Regions from separate parts of the Homo sapiens genome. Here region 2 is linked to region 1. The links are contacts of gene promoters, found by promoter capture Hi-C in human tissues and cell types (Jung and others, 2019). All regions are on one chromosome and are shown on one strand. Each heading gives the region's core, a stretch centred on a gene start or on the middle of the fragment in contact. The rest is flanking DNA. Distances are from core to core; before and after follow the strand shown. Region 1 holds the start of IZUMO1 (izumo sperm-oocyte fusion 1). Region 2 holds the start of HRC (histidine rich calcium binding protein).

The links. Contacts are between HindIII fragments. The study calls those that stand out against the background at their distance.
Region 2: a contact is called between the fragment with the promoter of HRC here and the fragment with the promoter of IZUMO1 in region 1, in 1 of the 25 tissues and cell types used here (lymphoblastoid cells).

What each region holds. Positions count from the first base shown.
Region 1 is chr19:48,744,928-48,751,990 of GRCh38, reverse strand. It overlaps IZUMO1 (izumo sperm-oocyte fusion 1), which reads left to right and starts at 5,082. Exons shown (of 10, transcript NM_182575.3): 1 at 5,082-5,556; 2 at 6,059-6,366; 3 at 6,703-6,777. The coding sequence starts at 6,132. It overlaps FUT1 (fucosyltransferase 1 (H blood group)), which reads left to right. Exons shown (of 2, transcript NM_001384359.1): 2 at 708-3,980. The coding sequence starts at 710. The coding sequence ends at 1,807. RefSeq lists enhancers at 354-993, 4,016-4,801, 4,802-5,587 and a cis regulatory region at 6,363-6,883. The HindIII fragment of the contact is 12,211 bases long and covers 1-6,824 here.
Region 2 is chr19:49,154,146-49,161,208 of GRCh38, reverse strand. It overlaps HRC (histidine rich calcium binding protein), which reads left to right and starts at 5,813. Exons shown (of 6, transcript NM_002152.3): 1 at 5,813-7,063. The coding sequence starts at 5,972. It overlaps TRPM4 (transient receptor potential cation channel subfamily M member 4), which reads right to left and starts at 3,417. Exons shown (of 25, transcript NM_017636.4): 1 at 3,319-3,417; 2 at 2,950-3,017. The coding sequence starts at 3,342. RefSeq lists a silencer at 2,192-2,378 and an enhancer at 3,062-3,683. The HindIII fragment of the contact is 31,868 bases long and covers 1-7,063 here.

The sequences.
Region 1 (7,063 bases), core at 3,833-6,332:
GTGCCACCATGCCAAGCTAATTTTATTTATTTTTTTTTGGAGACGGAGTTTCACTCTTGTTGCCCAGGCTGGAGTGTAATGGCATGATCTCAGCTCACCGCAACTCCCGCCCCCCGGGTTCAGGCGATTCTCCTGCCTCAGCCTCCCGAGTGGCTGGGATTACAGGCATGCGCCACCATGCCCGGCTAATTTTGTATTTTAAGTAGAGACAGGGTTTCTCCACGTTGGTCAGGCTGGTCTCGAACTCCCAACCTCAGGTGATCCACCCACCTTGGCCTCCCAAAGTGCTGGGGTTACAGGTGTGAGCCACCGCGCCTGGCCCATGCCAAGCTAATTTTAAAATTTTTTTGTAAGAGTGCTCTGTTGCCCAGGCTGATCTTGAACTCCTGGGCTCAAGGGATCCTCCCATCTCAGCCTCCCAATATGCTGGGATTACAGGTGTGAGCCACAGTGCCCAGCCAAACCATGGCTATCTTGAAAACCACTTGTCTTCCAGTCCCCATGCCCCGAAATTCCAAGGCTCTCATCCCTGAAACCTAGGACTCAGGCTCTCCCTACCTCAGCCCCAGGAGTCTAAACCTTTAACTTCCTCTTTCCCTGGGACTAAGGAGTGCTGCACCCCAGGCGCCTCCCTTACCCCACATCCCTCCTCAGCCTCCCCTCCTCAGCCTCAGAGCATTTGCTAATTCGCCTTTCCTCCCCTGCAGCCATGTGGCTCCGGAGCCATCGTCAGCTCTGCCTGGCCTTCCTGCTAGTCTGTGTCCTCTCTGTAATCTTCTTCCTCCATATCCATCAAGACAGCTTTCCACATGGCCTAGGCCTGTCGATCCTGTGTCCAGACCGCCGCCTGGTGACACCCCCAGTGGCCATCTTCTGCCTGCCGGGTACTGCGATGGGCCCCAACGCCTCCTCTTCCTGTCCCCAGCACCCTGCTTCCCTCTCCGGCACCTGGACTGTCTACCCCAATGGCCGGTTTGGTAATCAGATGGGACAGTATGCCACGCTGCTGGCTCTGGCCCAGCTCAACGGCCGCCGGGCCTTTATCCTGCCTGCCATGCATGCCGCCCTGGCCCCGGTATTCCGCATCACCCTGCCCGTGCTGGCCCCAGAAGTGGACAGCCGCACGCCGTGGCGGGAGCTGCAGCTTCACGACTGGATGTCGGAGGAGTACGCGGACTTGAGAGATCCTTTCCTGAAGCTCTCTGGCTTCCCCTGCTCTTGGACTTTCTTCCACCATCTCCGGGAACAGATCCGCAGAGAGTTCACCCTGCACGACCACCTTCGGGAAGAGGCGCAGAGTGTGCTGGGTCAGCTCCGCCTGGGCCGCACAGGGGACCGCCCGCGCACCTTTGTCGGCGTCCACGTGCGCCGTGGGGACTATCTGCAGGTTATGCCTCAGCGCTGGAAGGGTGTGGTGGGCGACAGCGCCTACCTCCGGCAGGCCATGGACTGGTTCCGGGCACGGCACGAAGCCCCCGTTTTCGTGGTCACCAGCAACGGCATGGAGTGGTGTAAAGAAAACATCGACACCTCCCAGGGCGATGTGACGTTTGCTGGCGATGGACAGGAGGCTACACCGTGGAAAGACTTTGCCCTGCTCACACAGTGCAACCACACCATTATGACCATTGGCACCTTCGGCTTCTGGGCTGCCTACCTGGCTGGCGGAGACACTGTCTACCTGGCCAACTTCACCCTGCCAGACTCTGAGTTCCTGAAGATCTTTAAGCCGGAGGCGGCCTTCCTGCCCGAGTGGGTGGGCATTAATGCAGACTTGTCTCCACTCTGGACATTGGCTAAGCCTTGAGAGCCAGGGAGACTTTCTGAAGTAGCCTGATCTTTCTAGAGCCAGCAGTACGTGGCTTCAGAGGCCTGGCATCTTCTGGAGAAGCTTGTGGTGTTCCTGAAGCAAATGGGTGCCCGTATCCAGAGTGATTCTAGTTGGGAGAGTTGGAGAGAAGGGGGACGTTTCTGGAACTGTCTGAATATTCTAGAACTAGCAAAACATCTTTTCCTGATGGCTGGCAGGCAGTTCTAGAAGCCACAGTGCCCACCTGCTCTTCCCAGCCCATATCTACAGTACTTCCAGATGGCTGCCCCCAGGAATGGGGAACTCTCCCTCTGGTCTACTCTAGAAGAGGGGTTACTTCTCCCCTGGGTCCTCCAAAGACTGAAGGAGCATATGATTGCTCCAGAGCAAGCATTCACCAAGTCCCCTTCTGTGTTTCTGGAGTGATTCTAGAGGGAGACTTGTTCTAGAGAGGACCAGGTTTGATGCCTGTGAAGAACCCTGCAGGGCCCTTATGGACAGGATGGGGTTCTGGAAATCCAGATAACTAAGGTGAAGAATCTTTTTAGTTTTTTTTTTTTTTTTTTGGAGACAGGGTCTCGCTCTGTTGCCCAGGCTGGAGTGCAGTGGCGTGATCTTGGCTCACTGCAACTTCCGCCTCCTGTGTTCAAGCGATTCTCCTGTCTCAGCCTCCTGAGTAGATGGGACTACAGGCACAGGCCATTATGCCTGGCTAATTTTTGTATTTTTAGTAGAGACAGGGTTTCACCATGTTGGCCAGGATGGTCTCGATCTCCTGACCTTGTCATCCACCTGTCTTGGCCTCCCAAAGTGCTGGGATTACTGGCATGAGCCACTGTGCCCAGCCCGGATATTTTTTTTTTAATTATTTATTTATTTATTTATTTATTGAGACGGAGTCTTGCTCTGTAGCCCAGGCCAGAGTGCAGTGGCGCGATCTCAGCTCACTGCAAGCTCTGCCTCCCGGGTTCATGCCATTCTGCCTCAGCCTCCTGAGTAGCTGGGACTACAGGCGCCCGCCACCACGCCCGGCTAATTTTTTTTGTATTTTTAGTAGAGACGGGGTTTCATCGTGTTAACCAGGATGGTCTCGATCTCCTGACCTCGTGATCTGCCCACCTCGGCCTCCCACAGTGCTGGGATTACCGGCGTGAGCCACCATGCCTGGCCCGGATAATTTTTTTTAATTTTTGTAGAGACGAGGTCTTGTGATATTGCCCAGGCTGTTCTTCAACTCCTGGGCTCAAGCAGTCCTCCCACCTTGGCCTCCCAGAATGCTGGGTTTATAGATGTGAGCCAGCACACCGGGCCAAGTGAAGAATCTAATGAATGTGCAACCTAATTGTAGCATCTAATGAATGTTCCACCATTGCTGGAAAAATTGAGATGGAAAACAAACCATCTCTAGTTGGCCAGCGTCTTGCTCTGTTCACAGTCTCTGGAAAAGCTGGGGTAGTTGGTGAGCAGAGCGGGACTCTGTCCAACAAGCCCCACAGCCCCTCAAAGACTTTTTTTTGTTTGTTTTGAGCAGACAGGCTAAAATGTGAACGTGGGGTGAGGGATCACTGCCAAAATGGTACAGCTTCTGGAGCAGAACTTTCCAGGGATCCAGGGACACTTTTTTTTAAAGCTCATAAACTGCCAAGAGCTCCATATATTGGGTGTGAGTTCAGGTTGCCTCTCACAATGAAGGAAGTTGGTCTTTGTCTGCAGGTGGGCTGCTGAGGGTCTGGGATCTGTTTTCTGGAAGTGTGCAGGTATAAACACACCCTCTGTGCTTGTGACAAACTGGCAGGTACCGTGCTCATTGCTAACCACTGTCTGTCCCTGAACTCCCAGAACCACTACATCTGGCTTTGGGCAGGTCTGAGATAAAACGATCTAAAGGTAGGCAGACCCTGGACCCAGCCTCAGATCCAGGCAGGAGCACGAGGTCTGGCCAAGGTGGACGGGGTTGTCGAGATCTCAGGAGCCCCTTGCTGTTTTTTGGAGGGTGAAAGAAGAAACCTTAAACATAGTCAGCTCTGATCACATCCCCTGTCTACTCATCCAGACCCCATGCCTGTAGGCTTATCAGGGAGTTACAGTTACAATTGTTACAGTACTGTTCCCAACTCAGCTGCCACGGGTGAGAGAGCAGGAGGTATGAATTAAAAGTCTACAGCACTAACCCGTGTCTCTGTAGCTTTTTTGGAGCCAGAGCCACTGTGTATGTGTGTGTGGGTTTGTGTGTGTGTGTGTGTGTGTGTGTGTGTAAGAGAGTGGAGGAAAAGGTGGGGTACTTCTGAAGACTTTTATTTTTTTTTAATTAATTTATTTTTTTTCAGAGATCGAGTCTTGCTCTGTGGCCCAGGCTGGAGTGCAGTAGTGTGATCTCGGCCCACTGCAAACTCCCACCTCTCGGATTCTGGTGCCTCAGCCTCCCAAGTAGCTGGGACTACAGACGTTCGCCACCATGCCCAGCTAATTTTTGTATTTTTAGTAGAGACGGGGTTTCACCATGTTAGCCAGGCTGGCCTCGAACTCCTGACCTCAGACAATCTGCCCGCCTCGGCCTCCCAAAGCGCTGGAATTACAAGCGTGAGCCACCGCGCCGGGCCCTGAGGATTTTTATTACTCGTGATTGGGAGTACTGTCCCTACTTAGATCTGACAGCCCCTTGTTGCTGGACTTGTGTGAGTTGTGGTCCCTGTTTTTCTGGTTCCCTGTTTCTATCACACAGGAGAGAGAGACCTTCCAGGACCCTAACGTCTGAGCCCCCAGTTGCTCACTCCTGGACTGTCAGTATTGGCCCCCAGTCCTCTCCTCCCACTGGGACCTCCGCGTGGGCAGAAGAGGCGGAGGAGGGAGCGGATTATCACTGAACTACATTTCCCGGAAAGCTATGAGGTTGGCAGCGTCAGTCAGCTACAGAGAAAGAGGCCCCAGGGCATTTTGGGAGTTGTAGTCTTAGGGCTAAAATGTCCACTTCGTGGCTCGACAGCCGTTTCCAAGGACCGCGGTGGGGGCGGCAGCGGCCTGGGGGGCCGGATCTAGCCCAAAGCCTGGGTCCTGGGGCAAGGGGAGGGGAGGAAACTGAAGGCCTGAGTCCGGTCCTTGACTCTGGAAGCCAGAGTAGTCAGGAGGCTTCCTCTTCCCTAGATGCTGGGAAAATTCTAGTCCAAAAAGGCTGCAGCCTCTGTGACGTCATGGAGCGATGGGCGGGACCTCCCTTTGTTGCAGTCCAATCAGACAGAGTTGAGTTTCTGGGTGGGGCCGAGGAAAACCCCAAGGAATATCTATAAAGGAATTCGGGCCCCTACGTGAGAAGCTCGGAGGGGGTGGTTTCAGGAGTTCCTTGTGGAGAGGGGATCGTCCGTGACTCAGACCCCGTCGAAAAGCTCTCGATTTCACGCAACCAACCTTACCCTCGTCCCCAACACAATCCTTGATTTTACCCCTGGGAAAATTAGCGTAGGTGGTCATGACCCCGGCTTCCTCTTTAAAAGCCCTCAGAACCTGGACCGGGCTCCTCAATGAACCCTAGTGTTAGAGGCCACAAATCGGGAACCAAGGTCGGGGAGCGGCTGTTTAGGGTGCATCACTGTTCAGGATGCATCGGGGCTCCTTTTTCTAAGCGGAAGGGTGCGCCCTGCAAATTGGGAGCCCGTTAGTTTTGGGGAAGGGTGAACAAGGGCCCCCTAGGTCTAGAGGACCGCATGGAGTCTCGCTTAAGTGTTAGTGGGGTCCTCAGTTCTAGGAATCTGGTATGTGTTTTGGTTTTGAAGGAGTTCCGAGTTTGATAATATCGTGGTTGGGTCTGTGTTAGATGTTTATTGGTTTGGGCATTGAATCTTCAGCTTGAGGTTCAACAGGTTTTGGGGGGCTGGCGGGGGAGTGCCTCGGTGTTGCTCTTAAGGGTTGGAGTTCAGGCTCACGTCAATCTGGGGACTTGGAAAATTCCACAGTTTGGGATTTTGGGAAGGGGCGCATGGGGTTGGGAGATTCCAGGTTCTGAGTTTGGGGACTTATGAGTGATTCCTGTTTAATAGTTTTTCTGATCTCTCAGTTGGGGGATTCAGTGAGAACCCTAAATTTTGGGTCCCCTGGATTGGGGCTCAGTTTCACACTTCGGAGGCATTTGATGAAGGACATAGGTCCTCTTTATTTGGAGATTTCCTGAAGATCCTCTTTTCGAGGTTTGCGGACCCCATGGATAGGCGGCCCAGTGGGATTTCTTAAGATGGATTTTGGCTTTTCTCCGTTTAGCGTTCTCCTGCTCTCGGTTTGGGGTGAGAGCACCCTTCCTAACGGTCTTCGGGAACTGTGCGCGCCGGCTGCAATGGGGCCGCATTTTACCCTCCTGTGTGCGGCGCTGGCCGGTTGCTTGCTTCCTGCCGAGGGGTGTGTTATATGTGACCCGTCTGTCGTGCTGGCGCTAAAGTCCCTGGAGAAAGATTACCTGCCTGGCCACCTGGATGCGAAGCATCACAAAGCCATGATGGAAAGGGTAGAGAATGCCGTGAAGGATTTCCAGGAACTGTCGCTTAATGAGGATGCCTATATGGGGGTCGTTGGTGAGGGCAGGGGGGACCACGGACCCCTGGGTCCTGGGAAAGGAGGGAGATAAGACCAGGGGAAGGAAGAGGCTGACAGCAGGGTCTCCGGGATTCGGGAATGGAGAAGGCTGAGATGCAGATTCCGAGGTTCCCCGAGGCTAGTAAATACCGTTTTCCCTATCCTCGGCTGGCAATTTTATGTAATAAAACTACAACTCCCAGAAGGCAACGGGCGGCTGAGTCCTTAACCAGGCCTATCTTTGCCCAGTGGCCTCATGGGTATTGTAGTTTCTAAGATTAGGCGCGCCAATGAGACAGTAAGGCTGGAATCTGGGGTTATATCTCCTCTGACAGATGAGGCCACACTGCAAAAGGGGTCCTGGAGTTTGCTGAAGGATCTGAAACGCATCACAGACAGTGATGTAAAAGGTAAATGCATCAAGGGGGTGGGAGTCCCGAATCTCTCAGAGAAGCCAGCGTTAGTGATGCCTGGTCTCTTGGTCAGATACTAGGCTGTGGACCCAGACCGCCTAGATTCCAATGCCTGCTCTGCCACTTCCTAGCTGTACGGCCTTGAGCAAAGGACTTTGAAGCTCCCTTGGCTCTAAAATGCTTCCTCAGTTGTTCAGTTTAAATGTGTATTGCTGGCCGGGCACGGTAGCTCAGGCCTGTAATCCTGGCACTTTGGAAGGCTGAGGCAGGCAGATTACTTGAG
Region 2 (7,063 bases), core at 4,564-7,063, 410 kb before region 1:
GTTGTTTTCCCTGTGACGTCTTACCTACTTCCAGTTTCAATTACCAGCTACAACTCGGACCTCTCAGATTCTGGACATTAGTCCAGACCTTTCCCAATCTCAGTCCCCACATGCCCCTCGGTCCCCCTAGGCCGCTCATATGCACAGATTCCCACATTGCACTCAGCGACATTTCCCAAACCTGCTTGCCCTCCTGAGCTCTCCATCTCAGGGACAGCCCCACTGTGTCCCAGTCAGCAGAGCATACGTCCCGGAGCCATCCACCGATGGCGGCACCCCCTCTCTCCCTCATCACCCTCATCAAGCCCCAAGCTCTGCCTTCCTGCCCCCTGAGTCTTTGCCCCATGCCCTCCTCTCTGTGTCCCGAAAGCCCTGACCTGGCTCAGGCCACTACCCCTCCCGCTCAGACGCTCTCTACAGCCTCCTCCCGAGCTCCTGTTCATCCTCTCCCAGCCCCAGAAAGTTTTTCCACACCCAGAGCCAACCCCACTGCTGCGGTGATGCCCCAGCTCCCAAGGACAAGATCCCAGCCCCTTAGGGTGGCCTCTGACACCCTGCAAGCTCTGGCCCTGCCCTCCTCTGCAGCCTCTTCTCTCATGACAGTGCTCCCTGCACCCTGAACTTTGATTCATATTCAAGCCAAACCATATGGTCCTTAGCAAGGACTTTGCACATGCTGTTCAAATCACTTTTTTCTTTCTTTCTTTCTTTTTTTTTTTTTTTTTGAGATGGAGTCTTGCTCTGTCACCCAGGCTGGAGTGCAGTGACGTGATCTCTGCTCATAGTAGCCTCCGTCTCCCAGGTTTAAGTGATTCTCCTGCCTCCTGAGTAGCTGGGATTACAGGCATGCGCCAATACGCCCAGTTAATTTTTGTATTTTTAGTAGAGATAGGGTTGCACCATGTTAGCCAAGCTGGTCTCGAACTCCTGACTTAGGTGATCCACCCGCCTCGGCCTCCCAGATTGTTGGGATGACAGGCGTGAGCCACAATGCCCGGCCCCAAATCGCTTTCCATGGGCCTCTCTCCAGCTCACTTTCAAATGTCACCTCACTAGCCACTCTTCCTCCCTCCAGAAACCATTAGTGACATTTTGTGTCCCCTCCCAGTCTTAAGCAAACACCTCCTCCCAGCTCTCACAGAGCCCAGTGGCTCGTCTTTGGGAGCTGCAACCCCTTGCCTTACTATAATTATCTTCTGCGTTTCTTCCTCCTCAGGCCAGACCAGAGTTTCCTAAATTGTCTTGACCACACTGACCTATCAGTAAAAAGGTTTTGAGCACTCACGTCCAACAAGCGCATATCTGTTTATTTATCCATCATTTACAAGCCATACTGCACTAATATATAGTCATAACAAAATACACACTGAAGTAGGAATGTGGATACTTCCCGCACCCCAAAAACTGTCTTGAAAAACAACTAGAGGGCTGGGCGCGGTGGCTCACACCTGTAATCCCAGTACTTTGGAAAGCCAAGGCAGGTGCATTGCCTGAGATCAAGAGTTCAAGACCAACCTGGGCAACAGGGTGAAATCCCGTCTCTACTAAAATACAAAAAATTAGCTGGGCATGGTGGTAGGCACCTGTAATCCCAGCTACTAGGGAGGCTGAGGCATGAGAACTGCTTGAACCCAGGAGGTGGATGTTGCAGTGAGCTGATATCGCAACACTGCACTCCAGCCTGGGCGACAGAGCCAGACTCTGTCTCAAAAAAACAAAAAACAAAAAACTAGAAAGCCTGGGCCAGGTGCGGTGGCTCACACCTGTAATCCTAGCGCTTTGGGAGGCCGAGGCCGGCGGATCATGAGGTCAGGAGATCGAGACCATCTGGCTAACACGGTGCAACCCCGTCTCTACTAAAAAAAAAATACAAAAAATTGGCCCAGCGCGATGGCTCACGCCTGTAATCCCAGTACTTTGAGGGGCTGAGGCGGGCGGATCACAAGGTCAGGAGATCGAGATCATCCTGGCCAACACGGTGAAACCCCGTCTCTACTAAAATACAAAAAATTAGCCGGGCGTGGTGGCGGGCGCCTGTAGTCCCAGCTACTCGGGAGGCTGAGGCAGGAAAACGGCGTGAACCCGGGAGGCGGAGCTTGCAGTGAGCCGAGATCGCGCCACTGCACTCCAGCCTGGGGGACAGAGCGAGACACCGTCTCAAAAAAAAAAAAAAAAAAAAAAAAACTAGAAAGCCTGGATCCGCTTGAGAGGCCGTCACTGAAGGGCGGGAGCTCCTCGCGGACGCACACACCCTATCTAGCTCAATTGGTGTCCCCGGCCACCAAGACAGGGCCCGCCCGCGGTAATAATTGCCACCTCCCAGTGGGAGCTGCAGATATTTCCCAGCGTCCTGTGCTGGGCGCTGTGCCAGGAATATCACAAGCATTAACTTGTTTAATTCTCATAATAACCCCAGGAGATCAAGCCTCTTTTGATGCCCAGATGAGAAACGGGACCCAGAGAGGTGAAATGATTTGCCCGAAGCCACACAGCACGTGTCCCAGGGGAAATTGGAACCCTGGCAGGGCCGTTGAATTAGGCTAAAGGGACCTTGGGAGCGCTGAGTGAGGGTTTCTTGCATGGATGGATGAATGAATGAATGAATGAATGAATGAATGAATGAAACAGAAATACCCAAAAGGGAAAGACAGAGACACAGAAAGTGACACGAAGAGACAGAAGCACATAGAAGAGACATCGGGGAGGAAAGAAGCAGAACCGAGCCCTGGAGCGTCTACACTGACCCTGAGCGGGAGAATGGCGAATGGGGAATGAGGGGTGTCTACACAGACCCAAACGCTCCTAGAGGGAGAGCGTCGGCAAGGAACGCCCTTGGGAAGGTCCCCGAGTCCAGGAATGGGGAAGGAGCAGGGCTGGGGCGTGACCATCCGCGGGCGGGGTCAGCGGGCCGCGGACCCTCTGGGGTCAGTCCAGGGGCGAACTCCTCACCCCGGATCTGTGGAGTCAACTATGAACGTCGTGCAGGTCTTCTTCTTGAAGATCTTGGGGATCCAGCTCTGGGGACAGGAACAAATGTAGGGGTGGAAGTGGGGTGAGAGGGCACCCAGTTCTGTCCTATGGGACACAGAGCCACCCACCCCGTGCGCTCCCCACGGACACAGGAGTCCGGGCCCCCAGCGCCCTCCCGCTCCAGACTCAGGAGTCTCGACCCCCATGCCCTGGACCCTGGAACCTGGACCCTCCCATCCCCCTCCTCCGTCTGACCCAGGAATCTGGGTGTCCAGCGCCCTCCTCTCTGGGAGCCTGGAGGCGAGGTCCCCAGCTCCGCGCTCCCGCAGACCCTGGTCCGGCGCTCACCTGCTCCTTCTCCGGCACCACCATGCTGCCGCGGCCGCCGCAACCTCCTGCAGCCCAGGGCCCCGGCGCTCCCTCCGCCGGCTCTGCTTCCAGACCCGCCCAGAGCAAACCGGATCCTCCACTTTCCAGCCTAGCCTGGGGCGGGGCGAGGTCTGGGGGGCGGGGAGTCTTGGAGACGCCAAAGCGGGAGGCGGGGAGAGGGCGGGTCCCAGGCCGCGATAAGGGGACAGAGGGACAGCGACCTGGGGGGTGCAGAGGTCCGGGCCGGGGGGAGAGAGACACACAGGGGAGACTCCAAGGGCAAGCGCGAGATGGGAACAGAAGGAGTTGGGGGCCAGTGGCGGAGAGGGAACAGACTCAGAAAGGAGGATGCCAGACAGGGAGGGGACAATTTAACCCAAAGAGGGGGAGACAAAGACTTAGGGGACAGAGAATCAGAAGGTGGGGCAGCAGGGACCCAGGGATAGACAGAGAGAGAGGGGGACAGAGACCCACAGAGAGAGGGGGACAGAGACCCAGGGAGAGGGGACAGAGACCCAGAGAGAGTGGGACAGAGACCCAGAGAGAGTGGGACAGAGACCCACAGAGAGAGGGGGACAGAGACCCAGGGAGAGGAGGACAGAGACCCAGAGAGGGGGGGACAGAGACCCAGAGAGGGGGGGACAGAGACCCAGGGAGGGGGGGACAGAGACCCAGGGAGAGGGGACAGAGACCCACGGAGAGGGGGACAGAGACCCAGGGAGAGGGGACAGAGACCCAGAGAGAGGGGGACAGAGACCCAGAGAGAGGGGGACAGAGACCCAGAGAGACGGGGACAGAGACCCAGAGAGAGGGGGACAGAGACCCAGAGAGAGGGGAACAGAGACCCAGAGAGAGAGGAGGACAGAGACCCAGAGAGAGGGGGACAGAGACCCAGAGAGACGGGGACAGAGACCCAGAGAGAGGGGGACAGAGACCCAGAGAGAGGGGAACAGAGACCCAGAGAGAGAGGAGGACAGAGACCCAGAGAGAGGGGGACAGAGACCCAGAGAGGGGGGGACAGAGACCCAGGGATGGGGGGACAGAGACCCAGGGAGAGGGGACAGAGACCCACGGAGAGGGGTACAGAGACCCAGGGAGAGGGGACAGAGACCCAGAGAGAGGGGGACAGAGACTCTGAGACAGAGGGGGACAGAGACCCTGAGAGAGGGGGACAGAGACCCAGAGAGAGGGGAACAGAGACCCAGAGAGAGAGGGGGACAGAGACCCACAGAGAGAGGGGAACAGAGACCCAGAGAGAGGGGGACAGAGATCCACAGAGAGAGGGGGACAGAGACCCACAGAGAGAGGGGAACAGAGACCCAGAGAGAGGGGGACAGAGATCCACAGAGAGAGGGGGACAGAGACCCAGGGAGAGGGGGACAGAGACCCAGAGAGAGGGGGACAGAGACCCAGGGAGAGGTGGACAGAGACTCTGAGACAGAGGGGGACAGAGACTCTGAGAGAGAGTGGGGACAGAGACCCAGAGAGGTGGATGCCAGAGATGGGGAGGAGACACCTTGACTGAGGCAAGGGGCAGAGGGGGATGCAAAAACCAAAGAATTGGGGGAAGGGCAGGAACTCAGAAAGGAGGGGCCAGAGATTTAGGGGAGAGAGAGGGACACAGACTTGGGGGAGGACTGACACTAAGATAAGAGTGGGACAGAAGCCCAGAGTGAGAGGGAGAGGCAATCCCATGGAGGAGGGACAGGGACCCTGAGAGAGCAGATGACAGAATTGAAGAGAGAGGAGGACCCGTGAACAGGAAAGGAGACCCTAGTGGGGGCAGTCATGAAGGGTGAGGAGTAGGAAATACTGACACACAGAGACGGGCAAGGCCACTTGTCTCCTGCCAGCCCTCTGTGATGGGGACAGCTGTGGCCTCCGTAACCTGAGTCCCCCTACCCCTCCCAGCTGTATTTATAGCCCTGGCCTAGCCCAGTCCCTGCCCCCAGATCTGAGTTCCAGGGACAGGAGGTCATGGGCACGTGTGTTGGGGGCCATGTTCCTTTCCCCCCATTCTAGGGCCTCAATACTGACATCACTCTCTCACCAGCACGTATCATTCCAGCTGGAAACACCCCGCAATCGAACCCCCAGTCCTTCCGTCCCAGGAGTCTCTCCCCTCTGATAAGTCTCTTCTGCCTCCCCCAGGTGCCCCAGGCTCCCCCAAAAACCTGCTAAAAGTCTAGCCTTTGTCTTTGCAGCTGCCAAACGTGAGCTTGTTGGTAGTTCAAAGTCAAGTCCCTTGGCCACCGTCTCCTGGCCAGGGAGAGACCCCTCACTGGTCCCCTCCCCAGCTGGGAGGAGGAGGAGCAGGAGGCAGGCAGGCGGGGACTGACCCAGAATAACTCAGGGCTGAGAGTAAATTTAGCTGGAGAGAGGGGAGGGGAAGGACCCTATTGGCTGGGGAATGGGGAGGGAGGGCCCCAGAGGGGGGTCAGGGGGCTCCGGAGACAGCCTCAGAGGGGTGTCCAGAGCCAGGCAGCAAGGACCAGAGGAAGGTGGACAGAGACCGAAAGGACAAAGGAGAGACACAGAGAAAAAAAGAGACCAACCCCAAAGGGACAAAGACCCCAACGTTTGTCCACATTGCCGCAGAGGCAGCTGGAGCCAGTGCTGCCTGTCCGTCCCCATGGGCCACCATAGGCCATGGCTGCACGCTTCTGTCCTCTGGGCTGGGGTGGCCAGCCTGCTCCTCCCCCCGGCCATGACCCAGCAGCTCAGAGGGGATGGGCTAGGCTTCAGAAACCGGAACAACAGCACTGGAGTCGCCGGGCTCTCCGAGGAGGCATCAGCAGAGCTTCGCCACCACCTCCACAGCCCTAGAGACCATCCAGATGAGAACAAGGATGTTTCCACAGAGAATGGGCATCATTTCTGGAGCCACCCAGACCGTGAAAAGGAGGATGAAGATGTCTCCAAGGAATATGGGCACCTACTCCCAGGCCACAGGTCCCAAGACCACAAAGTCGGAGATGAGGGTGTCTCAGGTGAGGAGGTCTTTGCAGAGCATGGTGGGCAGGCCCGTGGGCACAGAGGCCACGGGAGTGAAGACACGGAAGACTCAGCTGAGCACAGGCACCACCTCCCCAGCCACAGGAGCCACAGCCATCAAGACGAGGATGAGGATGAAGTTGTGTCCAGTGAGCATCACCATCATATCCTCAGGCATGGACACCGAGGCCATGATGGGGAAGATGATGAAGGAGAAGAGGAGGAGGAGGAGGAGGAGGAGGAAGAGGAGGCCTCCACTGAGTATGGACACCAGGCCCACAGGCACCGAGGCCATGGGAGTGAAGAGGATGAGGATGTCTCAGATGGACACCATCATCATGGCCCCAGCCACAGGCACCAAGGCCATGAAGAAGATGACGATGATGATGATGATGATGATGATGATGATGATGATGATGATGTCTCCATTGAATATAGACACCAGGCTCACAGGCACCAAGGCCACGGGATTGAAGAGGATGAAGATGTCTCAGATGGACACCATCATCGCGACCCCAGCCACAGGCACCGAAGCCATGAAGAAGATGACAATGATGATGATGATGTCTCCACTGAGTATGGACACCAGGCCCACAGGCACCAAGACCACAGAAAGGAAGAGGTTGAGGCTGTCTCAGGTGAACACCACCATCATGTCCCTGACCACAGGCACCAAGGCCACAGAGACGAGGAAGAAGATGAGGATGTGTCCACTGAACGTTGGCACCAG